4 separate regions of the Homo sapiens genome follow, and regions 1, 3 and 4 are each linked to region 2. Evidence: promoter capture Hi-C in 16 types of primary human blood cells and fetal thymus (Javierre and others, 2016). All regions are on one chromosome and are shown on one strand. The core of a region is centred on a gene start or on the middle of the fragment in contact, and the rest is flanking DNA. Distances in the headings are between cores, read along the strand shown. Region 1 overlaps VWA8 (von Willebrand factor A domain containing 8). Region 2 holds the start of DGKH (diacylglycerol kinase eta). Region 3 overlaps VWA8 (von Willebrand factor A domain containing 8). Region 4 overlaps VWA8 (von Willebrand factor A domain containing 8).

The links. The method cuts DNA at HindIII sites, captures the fragments that hold promoters and counts their contacts. A CHiCAGO score of 5 or more calls a contact.
Region 1: a fragment that was not itself captured here is called in contact with the fragment with the promoter of DGKH in region 2 in 5 of 17 cell types (M1 macrophages, megakaryocytes, monocytes and 2 more); the score reaches 10.7 in M1 macrophages.
Region 3: a contact is called between a fragment that was not itself captured here and the fragment with the promoter of DGKH in region 2, in 3 of 17 cell types (monocytes, M0 macrophages and M1 macrophages). The highest score is 6.9, in monocytes.
Region 4: a contact is called between a fragment that was not itself captured here and the fragment with the promoter of DGKH in region 2, in 2 of 17 cell types (M1 macrophages and M2 macrophages). The highest score is 5.6, in M1 macrophages.

What each region holds. Positions count from the first base shown.
Region 1 is chr13:41,692,581-41,695,559 of GRCh38, reverse strand. It overlaps VWA8 (von Willebrand factor A domain containing 8), which reads left to right. Exons shown (of 45, transcript NM_015058.2): 30 at 2,588-2,698. Among named protein-coding and RNA genes, the nearest start is that of MIR5006, 130 kb to the right of the region's middle. The HindIII fragment of the contact is 810 bases long and covers 1,186-1,995 here.
Region 2 is chr13:42,047,373-42,050,409 of GRCh38, reverse strand. DGKH (diacylglycerol kinase eta) reads right to left here and starts at 1,762. Exons shown (of 30, transcript NM_178009.5): 1 at 1,445-1,762. The coding sequence starts at 1,636. RefSeq lists a silencer at 1,456-1,985 and an enhancer at 2,526-2,615. The HindIII fragment of the contact is 8,345 bases long and covers 646-3,037 here.
Region 3 is chr13:41,646,493-41,649,508 of GRCh38, reverse strand. All of the region lies in intron 37 of VWA8 (von Willebrand factor A domain containing 8), which reads left to right. Among named protein-coding and RNA genes, the nearest start is that of MIR5006, 80 kb to the right of the region's middle. RefSeq lists a cis regulatory region at 958-969 and an enhancer at 891-1,035. The HindIII fragment of the contact is 1,020 bases long and covers 1,239-2,258 here.
Region 4 is chr13:41,757,355-41,760,266 of GRCh38, reverse strand. The region is part of intron 21 of VWA8 (von Willebrand factor A domain containing 8); the gene reads left to right. Among named protein-coding and RNA genes, the nearest start is that of MIR5006, 190 kb to the right of the region's middle. The HindIII fragment of the contact is 5,036 bases long and covers 1-2,912 here.

The DNA.
Region 1 (2,979 bases), core at 341-2,840, 350 kb after region 2:
ATGTGAACAGCACACAGCTGTGAAATTTAACAACTGATAAATAATTCTAGTGGAATGAAAAATAAGTAGACTGCCATCAATTCCTTCTTCTTCATTCTACCCTAACTGAAAATGAAGCAAAATATTATAGAGAAGTACTTCCATGAATTCGGCTATTCCTTGCCTTTTTAACATAAAGCTTTGCTCAGATGCATGTCCCTGGTTAGTTTAAGAAGTTGTTCAAAAATTCCTTGCTAAAATAAAATCTTAAGTAAGGAAAGGGAAACTTTGCCATGCCTAAAAATAAAGACCCTCCCCTTCCCCCACTCCCCATGAGATTATTTATTACATCTGTACAAAGTTTAGAATTTCAGATTTAGGGACATTGAGGTCATCCAGAGGTTACTTTTCTCCCAGTTAAATACAAACATAATAAAATTGCTCACTCGCGTCTCCTCCCTGCCCCCCTTAAAGGAGTGCCAAAGCCACAGTTACATGTACTCATGTGTGACGCAAAATTCTATTTTTAAACCCAGACAGAATCTATCATTAGTCATTTACAGAAGGAAACCATTAACATCTAAAAGGATGGAGCAACAGAACTCCTTCATGTTGCCAATTGCTTATAAACTAATTCTAAATACAGCAGTGGCTGGAAATACATGTTTTCTGTCACTTAGAAAGATACAGTTTTTCAGTTCACTTATGCCATGTTATGAATATGTAAGTATTAGACCCTAAAAAGGTAGGAAAATGGAAGACGATACTAACTTCTTTTTCTGCTTGATCATATTTGTTTAATCAACTGCTTATTCTTATGCTTACTCATTTTTGGGCATGAAACATTTTTAGGACTTCCTTTGCTTACAAAGGCTAATATTATCCCAAATTGCTTAAGTGCTAAGAATTCATTTTAACGTTGTACATATTTATTATACAAGAAATATTTTTTCCATCAAAAAGTACTCATTCAAAAAATATTTAATCTAGAATAGAGATTATAAATTTTTAACTTAATTTTATTTTTTTCTTAAGGAAAACTCTAAGATATCATTACCATTTTCAAAACTGTCAAGTAGTGGTGAATGACACTTCTTATATGTTAATTTTTAAAAGAATATTTCTAACACACATTCTTAATGGAGAATTATATCTTATACAGAATGATACATTCTAAGGGTGATGTTTATGAAAGAAATTTAAGCTTGGTTAACATGCTTAGTAAAATTTTTTAATACAAATAAAATTCAGAGTATATGGTGTGAAGTGAGTTATATGGTGCAAATACTATTTTAATTCTTGAACACTTCCACAAAATTAGCTTGTAAAATAAAATTAAACCCACACTGAGATGCTAGATTTGCAGATGAATCATTCATTTTTTTACATTTCTTTTTATTTCTCTAACTAAATTATATGACAGAAGGCAAGGGTCATGATTAATTCATTGTTGTATTCTTTATATATTAAATATAAGCTCCTCAATAAATATTATGGAAAAAATGAACAAACACTTCACATTTTATTGTTTTCTATATTTTTCAAGGTTTTTATTAATTCTTCATGTGCTTTGTGACTTTATTTTCTCCAAAAGAAATTCTTCTTGAAATGAAAAGTTCACAAGAGTTAGGATAACTGGAGGAGCCCCACATTTAAAATAAAATAAAACAAAGAAAGAAAAGACACCCGCATAACAATGAGGTCTGACAAATAACTTGCAGGTACCTTTCTGCAAACCTGTTAGTCTAATCTTCAAAATTCTTTATATTTTAACTAAAAAGCCAACTTCTTTGCATCCCTTTAAAATATTTAATTTTTTCTGGCTTTCTCAATGTTAAGTTTTTATTTCATGTATTTCAGTTCATTTATTTCAACACATAAGGTTTATTTATTTTCTTAAAAAAACGTATCCTAATTACTGAAAGATTACATCATTGCATAGCTGTGATTAATAATGCTGCAGAAATCTGTTGTTTGTACTTTATTACAGCACCAGTTATGAAGGTTCTTCAAGCTTGGTGAATTTCTAAATGAAGGAACATTCATTACTAGCTAGTTTCTTGGAGTCCTTCATATTTCTTGCTTAGTCCTCTTTATATCTATTTTATACCTATTTTCTAAATTGAACCTGGATTTGTGAAAAAGATAAATGAGATTTAATTATGCACAATATAAGAGAGCTTTCAACTGAGCATTCTCTAAGTATAATTTTGTTACAGGTAGATGAATTTCTTAAAATCATCAATCCTTGTAATTTCCTTATAACTAGATAATAAAACAGAATCATGGTTCAACTAGCTTATATTTAAAAGGGAATGGTTTTTACATAAAAATATTTAAAGAGAATACCTTCTGCATCACATATTTAGAAACGTCTTCATAAAACCACCAAAAATTTTAAATTCTTAAATTAAGAAGCACTTAATTCTTTGTGATTCTTAAGAAAAATCACTTAATGTCTTTGTGATATTTCTTAAGTATTACAATATTGTCTTTGTTTTGATTTATCACTATAACCTTCACTGTCAGGTTGCCAAGAGGTTGCTGCTTTAAAAAAAAAAAAAAAAAGAACAAATCTTGAGCTTTTCACTGTTTTTATCATTTGCAGAGTAATGTTATCCTGTTGTTAGATACTACTGGCCGGGCCCTTCATCGTCTCATCCTCCCTTCCGAGAAGTTTACATCTAAGAAACCTTTCTGGTGGAACAAAGAAGAAGCTGTAAGAAACACCACATTTGTCCCACAAATTGCCAAGGATTTCTATAGCTTTCTAACCAGAAAGATGCATGCATGCCCATCCCTTTAAGTGCCTTTTTTGTTGTAATGCACAAGAGAATTTCCTGTTATGCACGTATAGATTTTAACATGATATATATAACCATAGATATGTGTATAATTAAATATCAATAAATTCTTTTTATGACATTATACTTGCATGAAGATTTGCCAGGACTGGACTAACAATAAGAGAAAATTAAAAACTATTTGAATATCGTATTT
Region 2 (3,037 bases), core at 513-3,012:
ATTTCAGAAAATAAGGAGGCAGGCTACTACAAACATTAATCCACTAGCTTTTTTTTTGTCGCTCAGGCTGGAGTGCAGTGGCACAATCTCTGCTCGCCACAACCTCCGCCTCCCGGGTTCAAACGATTCTCCTGCCTCAGCCTCCCGAGGAGCTGGGATCTCAGGTGCACGCCTCAAAGCCCAGCTAATTTTTTTATTTTTAATAGACATGGGGTTTCACCATGTTGGCCAGGCTGGTCTGGAACTCCTGGCCTCAAGTGATCTGCCTGCCTTGGCCTCCCAAAGTGCTGGGATTACAGGCATGAGCCACCGTTACCGGCCTCCACAGGCACTGAATAAAAATTATGTTTCCAAATAGGAGTTCATTGACCTTAGGGAAAATTTTTCATAAAAATAACTGTAGAATGAATTTTTTGCAAATTTATTTTTAAAAACGGTACCCCAAGCCAATGATTTTGTGGTTCCGTTTTCAATATCCTCGTTAAATTTCCCTACTGATAACAGACTCTCTCTGTGAAGATTTTTAAATTACAATGAAAATTAGAATACATAAAAATCCTTTAATATCCATAAGCATTTGCTTTGGTATGTTCATGATCAAATTAAAAATTAACTTTGAGACCTCACAGGTCGACAGCACAAGCTTCATTAACAAGAGTAACACACCATCCTAATGTCCACACAGCACAGAGGTAACTTCTCATTATTAAAAAGAACCATGGACGCATGGTTCTGAACCCTGCCTGCACTTGGCGGGAACCTGCGACACGAAAGCCTGGCCAGCCCTTGGAGCCATGCAGGGTGCGGTTAAGCCGCGAACACCATGTCCCACTTGCCTGCCTCGGGGCTTCTGCCTTCCAGACCGCAGCAGGAGGCAGAGGGGCAGGAAAGGCTGACCGGTGTCACCTTCCACCCACCCTCTGAGTGGGCCTAAGTGGGAAAGCAGCAGGGCTCACTGCAGCGCAGGCTGGTTGGCCAGCACATGCGCACGCTCCCCCGAACGGCAGGGAAGAAAAATTGAAACTCTCCTTTTAAGTTCCCTAAGTAGGAACTCGCGACTGCGCGTCAGCTTTTTCCCACGCTCCCGCCGAGCCGCGGGTTCCCTGCACCCGCCTCTGCCAGTCGAACTCCCTGGGAGCCCAGGCTCGCAGCCTCCCGCGCAGCCGCCGGGAATCCGTCCCGCAGCACCGCGGTCCAGCGCCCCCGGGCCCCGCCCCACCCCTCCCCGCCCCGCCCGCGCCCCAGGCCCCGCCCCGCCTCACCGTCTCACCATCCCCGCCTTCCCCGCCTTCCCCGCCTTCCCCGCCTTCCCCGCCTTCCCCGCCTTCCCCGCCTTCCCCGCCTTCCCCGCCTTCCCGGGATCGCCCGGCGCGTTCCAGCGCCCCCGCGCCCTCTCCACCTCCCGCTTTCCACGCGGCCCTCAGGCCCGCCTCCTCCGCCCTACCTTGGTCCGGATCTGCCCCGAGGTAGACACTTTGCGGATCAGTTTCTGGGGTCCCTCTTGCTCCGCTTCGCTGTCAGACGAATCCTCTCCCGGCCCCGCCGAGGCAGCGGCGGAGGTGACCGCGGCGCCGGCTCCGGCGGCCGCTCCTCCAGCGGCGCCCGGAGGGTGGTGCTGGCCTCCGGCCCCTGCCATCCTCTCCGACTCCTGCGGGGACACAGCACCGCCCGGCGGGGGCGGCGGCGTTGGTCAGCGGGTGGGCTCTGCCCGAGCGGAGCCCGGAACCCCGTGCCCGGCCGCCGCCGCCATCTTCCGTTTCCCTAGCTACCCCCGCGAGGTAAGGGTCGCCCGGGGCAGGCGCCCTCCAGGCAGGGGTCCACCCGGCTCCTCCGCTCGGTTCCCGCCGGAGCGGCGGCCACGGTGGGACGCAGAGGTAACGGACCCCCGCCCGCCTCGGACCCCTGCGCACCCAGCCTCGGATAGGACCAGCGCGGGTAGAGAGGATGGGGTGACAGGGTTTGGAGCAACATCTCTTCCACTCCCTTACGGTCTGGGTCCCTAGGATGGACAGGAGGGTGGGGGAGGCAGGAAACCTCTGCAGCCCACCCCGTAGTGGCGATGCCCGCACACCCCCTCTCACTTCTGGACAGCAGGGGCAACGCCGATCCCTGGGGAAGAATGGGAACCTGGAGCTTCCTCCCAGCACCCTTGGGTGCACCCGCCACCTCCTGAACCCCGAATCTCTCCAGAGACACTTGGGCCTCGCCGCGCGGTTCCAGCTGAATAAAAGTCCCCTCTGCCACCAAGACAGTCGGGGGCTGCCCCTCGTCGGTTTCCCCACCCCCAGCCCCACTCCGAGGACCGTACCTCTCCCGCCTCCGCCAGGGCCGTCGGGTCCCCTCAGCTCTCCTGACGGCGGCGTTCAGTTTCTGGCCCACCCCCACCCCCATCCGGCGCACACGGAAGAGAAGAGCATTTTCCGGGAGGTTCAGCTCCGCTCTGAGAACTTTTCGTTCAGAAAGAGCGATCCCCTTCGGCTAACAGGAAACTGGGAAGGGCGTGGAGAAAGCGCAGAAACAAGAGACTACACGCAGCCCAAGACGACAGAACGCACAAGAAGTGTCTAAGCTGAAGCGCTAACCGAGATTGCCTGGAAGAAAACAATACACTCGAGCCATGCGAACACCAGTACCCGAGACAAAAAGCCTTGGAAGTCCTGGCAGAGCCACTCCCTAGCCCGGACTAGAGCAGGAGGAAGTGGGATCAACAGGCTGTAGCCACCGCGCACAACTCCCCTGCAAGCTGGCTGCGCGGGCACTTGGGAACCGCGGACTGGCAGCGGGTTGTGCACGCTCAACGTCAAAGAAGCCTCACAGGTGTGAGGGGGCTGCGGTGAGGGGGCTGCGAGAGAAGACATTAAAACGACAGATCCCTCTTGTCATCCAAAGAGAACACCAAACTGGTGTTAGCTATATTTTTAAATAGGACAAAAAGTCCCTGCCAGACTGTGGAGTCTCTCCACCTGGAGAAAGCATTCAATCTCTGTTATGTTCATGCCTTTCAGTACCATTCCTTTCGTATTTTTTCAGTTGACAT
Region 3 (3,016 bases), core at 499-2,998, 400 kb after region 2:
AATACAGATAATATTATTATCTGCCTGACTATAATTCATATATTATTCATCTAATACAGCAAATAAACCTATTTATTCCTTTGCATTTTACTATAGGACATATTCTTGTCATTAAATAATTACTAGTGTTCATTTTACAATTATTAAAACTAGGAGGTTTGTAAAGAGTAAAACTTTAAAGTAGGAAAAGTTAAATATTTATTTTAGCTAACTGATATCTCATAATTCCTTTTGGTTTAAAATATTAATATTCCTTTTTTGTAATCATAATGAAATCTGTTTAAAGAAATCTACTGCCCTATGTTTTTGTTGTTGTTATTGTTGTTGAGACAGAGTGTCCCCCATCACCCAGGCTGGACTGCAGTGGCGCAATCTCAGCTCACTGCAACTCCGCCTCCCGGGTTCAAGTGATTCTCGTGCCTCAGCCTCCCAAGTAGCTGGGATTACAGGCACCCCCCCACCACGCCCAGCTACTTTTTGGATTTTTAGTAGAGACGAGGTTTCACCATGTTGGCCAAGCTGGTATCGAACTCCTGGCCTCATGTGATCCACCCGCCTTGGCCTCCCAAAATGCTGGGATTACAGGCATGAGCCACCGTACTCAGCCCCTATAAGTTTTAAATTCTTAGGCTAAATGGAAACCATTAGCCTAATATTTTAAACTATCTCTTAAAGCATTTCTTTATTCCTGAAGACTCTAAGCATAAATGATGCTGCTTATAATTTATGACATTAATTGCCTTTAGCAGTACCGTGCTTCTATGTGTTATTGTTGCTATTATGAAGGTAATTATAATTGTATGTCTCCTGAGAAGATGAAAAAGTTTTTGTAGGTCTGTATGTAAAGTATTTGAAGAAAAGATTATTTTACGGCCCCGTCAAAAGTAGCTTCAAGCAAGAGCTATTGTTCAGGACCTTTTATAGACATAGATGAAATTCCTTTTGCCATTTGAACAGTGTTTACATTCGGGAAAGTTCACAGTTAAGTCTTTGACATACTGTGAAAGGATCTTTTGTTCTCTACAAAAACATACTTCCTCATCCTTTGAGTCACCTTGTTTTTATTCCCTTGTTTACTTTTCTGGGGAAATAATGCCCACCTCCCAAGTAATGTCAAGGGAAGAACTATTTCAGAAATCTAAGTTGTTCTGTATGAGGAAAGAGGGCTTGGATTTTGGCAGAAAAAAATCAGAAATATTTTTAAAACCTGAACCAGATAAATAATGTAATCTCAAGCTTCCAAAAATTATTTGGGTAGGGTTTTTTCCAATGCTAAAAAAAGGAAATCTTTTTTTATCATCATTATTACCAGTGATCAGATTCAGGAAGTGTGAGACACTTTACTGAGGGGACTACCGACACCGTCCAAAGGCATTTTTCTATTGTGTTAGGAAAGCTCTCCTCTGCTAACTACGTTGATTCTCCAAGACATGCATCATTTAATATTTTCTCCTAGGTGGTGGGTTTTATGATGAGCTTAGGCTTTAGTCAGTCAGACTTGAATTCTTTTTTTTTTTCCTGAGACAAAGTCTCGCTCCTTCGCCCAGGCTAGAGTGCAGTGGTGCGATCTTGGCTCACTGCAACCTCTGCCTCCCGGGTTTAGGCGATTCTCCTGCTTCAGCCTCCTGAGTAGCTGGGATTACAGGCATGCGTCATGATACCAGCTAATTTTTGTATTTTTAGTAGAGAAAGGGTTTCACCATATTGGCCAATCTGGTCTCAAACTCCTGACCTCAAGTGATCCACCCACCTCGGCCTCCCAAAGTGCTAGGATTACAGGCATGAGCCACTGCACCTGGCCCAGACTTGAATTCTTTTAGCGATGTATATTTATCAGTAAATAATGTGACTGATTCTACTCATGGTTTCAAAGCTGATTTTGAAGGGAAAAAACCATTGCTGTTTTGTGTATCAGCATATGCCCAATGCTAGCACAGTGCCCTGAACTTACTGGACACTCAGTAAGCATTTGTCAAATGAATGAAATAAATATATATGCATTCAGAGTGACAATGTCAAATAACAACCTTTTAAAATTCTTTTTATTTTTTTCAAATAAGTCTTTTAAATGAACACATTCTAATGTATTTAAGAAAATCTTATTTGTTTGTAGATATGCTCTGTGTGTTAATGTAACTGTTCATTTATCCTTACCTAATATGCATAAGTGGAAGATTACTTGTAGTTTAGGGATTATATTCAAACCCTTCTTTAGTCACGCTAAACCTGACACATCCAGAAAATGTCTCCCAAAAGCTTCTGATCCTCATTTATATCCTAAGTTTTACCACAGGCAGGCCATCAAAGTCAGTGATCTTCATGTTCTGGGGCATTTCCATTGGAGCTCTTTTTTTCTGTGTAAATGATAAACAGAGATGTACTTTACTGCTACTGTTAGTAAAGCTGTGTGTGTAATATGTGAGGAAAAGGTAAGGTACTGAAGCCTGCCCATCACTGTTAAGTATTCTACATGTATCTCTCCATTTTCTCTTTGTAGCTTCCTATGTGATAGAATGATGATAGTCCCATTTTATAGATGAAGAAACAGATTTTCAAACAGATTACATAGTACACCCAATGTCCTGTGGCCAGTAAGTGACATTTTCAGACGTGAGCCACTAGGGCAAGCATTGAGTCTGCAGATCATGTTCAGGATTGTCTGGTATGATGCAGTTCAGACCATACATAAATACAGTATTTTACTAACCTTCTGAAAGATATGCTAGCCCTTTAATCTAATGTCTTATTTACTGATGTATACAGTGCTTTCTATAAATCTGATATATATTAAAAAGGAAAAATGCTTGCCTTTCAGGCATATTTCTTGCTTTCCTAAACCATGATATGCTTTATAAAACATTGAATTTTGTACTATCAAGAATACATTCATTGTTTATAGCCAGTGTAATGTAGTAAAAAAAAAATCTGATAAACCTGGGTTTTAGAAGGAGATGGACTGAGATTTCAATCCTGGCTCCTCCAATTAATAACTATGTGATAATGAGTATGTTGCTAT
Region 4 (2,912 bases), core at 280-2,779, 290 kb after region 2:
ATTTATACCTCTGCCCATGACAGGGTAGTGGTACCAGATTAGCCCTACCACAATAAAAACTATAAAACTGAACAAAATTCACAAACACTAGGAAAAGAAAAACTACTAGGGATCTTTGAGCTGAACAACTACCAGAGTTCCTTCATTAAATAACCCTGGTATTCAGAAGGGTATTTATCTTATAAAGTCTATGTTTAGAAGTAGGACTAATCTATCCCTAAAGTAAGAGTTACTCCATACCTATCTTTACAAATTTTAAAACTAAGCCCTGATAAAGAAGGATGCTTGCTATTTAATATTATTTTGGAAGTTTTGTCTCATACAAAATGGCTTTAAAAATAAAAATAATGGGTATTTGGGGAGGGAGGGAGGAATACCTTGAAAAAATCAGGTGATTCAACAGTAAATTGACTTCATACCTGAACAAAACTTAACACTCAACCAAGAAGACCGCAAAATCCAAACACTCAGCAACATAGCATTCATTGAGTCAAGCATTCAATAGGAAATGACTAGACATACAAAAAAAGCAGGAAAATTGGTCAATAGAAATAGACTAAAAATGACAGGATAATGGAATTAGCAGACAAGGACTATAAAACAGTTGCCATAAATAGATTCAAACATTTAAAGGGAGAAAAATGAACATAATGACGGAATAATTGGAAATTCTTAGTGTAAAAATGACAACCCTAAAAAAGCAGCTTCACATACACACAATTGTAGTCTCAAAAGAGAGGAGAAAAAAATGGGACAGAAAAATATTTTGAAGAGATAATGGTAGGAAAATTCTCAAATTTGATAAAAAAGATAACATCACCAATTCAGGAAGCTCAATGAACTTCAAGCAGAATAAACAAAAAAAACACTACATAGCATATAATCAAATTGCTAAAAACCAAGAGAAAAATCTTTAAAATTACCAGAGGAAAAAAGACGTATTACCTATAGGGGAACAATGATAAAAGTGACTGCTGACTTCTCCTGAGAAATAAATATGAACCACAATTCAATTGAAGTGCTGAAAGAAAAAAAATATCAGTATAGATTAGTATATTTGGCAAAAATATTCTTCAGAAGGCAAAATAATGACATTTTCAGACAAAAACTGAGTTTTTTTATCAGCAGACCTGTGTAATGCAAAAAAATAAAATTACAATTCAGAATTTCCTATGAACATAGATGCAAAAATTTTTAACAAATGTTAACAAATCAAATTCAACAATATATAAAAAGAATAATATGTCATAACCAAGGAGGTTTTATCTCAGGAATGCAAGGCTAGCTTAACATTTAAAAATCAAATTATATAACACATTTACAGAATAAATAAAAAACCATATGATCCTCTAATTGCCACCAGAAAAATCATTTGAGAAAATTCAATATCCATTCCTGATAAAATATCACATAAATTACAAATATCAGGAAACTTCCTCAATCAAGAGGCATCTATAAAAAGCCTATAGCTAAACTTCATATTTAAAAATGAAAGACTAAACATTTTTCTCATGATTAGGAGAAAAGACAAGAATATTAACTACTCATATTATGCTGGAGGTGCCAGCTAGCACAATAAAGCAAGAAAACTTAATAAATGGCATGCATGTTATAGATGACACAATTGCATGAATGTGTATATAAAAAACCTTAAGAAACATATAAAAAAAGCATTAGAACTAATAAGTTAAACAAGGTCATAAGATACAAGGAAAATGTACAAAAATCAATTGTATTCCATATATATATATTCCATATATTCCATATATATGGAATATATATACTGGCATATATATATTCCATATATTCCATATATATGGAATATATATACTAGCGTATATATATATATATATATATATATATATATACTAGCGTATATATATATATATATATATATGCTAGTATCTATAGCAATGGGAAAAAATTTAAAAATACTATTTACAGTAGTATAAAGAATATATTTAGGAATAAATTAATTTAACAGAATATATGCAAATTTTAAATTTGCTATTGTTAATAGTGTGTAACAAGGTCAATAGACACCATTATTTCTTCAAATACTTCTAACTTGCTGATGGCTGTTTGAAATGGAACTGAAGGTTATCTGTTTCATACTTGTGAGATGATGAGCTTCCGTCGTAGTAAATTCTTCCCCTTATCTTCATCTACCTCAACATCCCCCTCAGTATCCTCAGTATCTCTGCTATATAGTGTTCATTCTACATTATCTGGAAATAGAAGGTATTCTTTGTTGTTTACAATACATTTTTAATCCTGATTTTCTGCTACCGTCATTTCTGCCAATATTAGAGAATTGTAATTACAAAGCTAGATCCATGAATTGGCGAAGCTAAATATAATTCTTCTCAATATGTTAGGCATTAAATGTTAAGAATTTGTTCCGTAGAAAGCCCTCTTCTCATTGTCATATTACTTGTCCCCCACATTCCCACTCCCAACTTTCCATGTTTCTTTCTTCTATCACCCATCATTTCATTTCCTAAATTTTATATAGGTCAACCACATATTTCAGAAAATTTCTAGCCTTTTCTAGTGCTTTAAGAACATAGGATCTTACATGTTCTCTCTTATAAGTGGGAGCTAAACATTGAGTATCCATGGACATAAAGATGGCAACAATAGATAGTGGGGACTGCTAAAGGGCAGAGAGAAGGAGGGGAGCAAGGATTGAAAACTAACAATTGGTTACTATGTTTACTGTGTAGATGGCAGGATCAGTCATACCCTAAATCTCAGGATCACACAATATAGCCATGTAACAAACCTGCACATGTACCCCCTAAATCTAAAATAAAGGTTGTAATTATTTTTTGAAAAGAAGACTAATACTGGTTCTTTTACTCCAGCTTCATCCAAATTTTTACCACACTATTTTTATATCTTCTCATGGT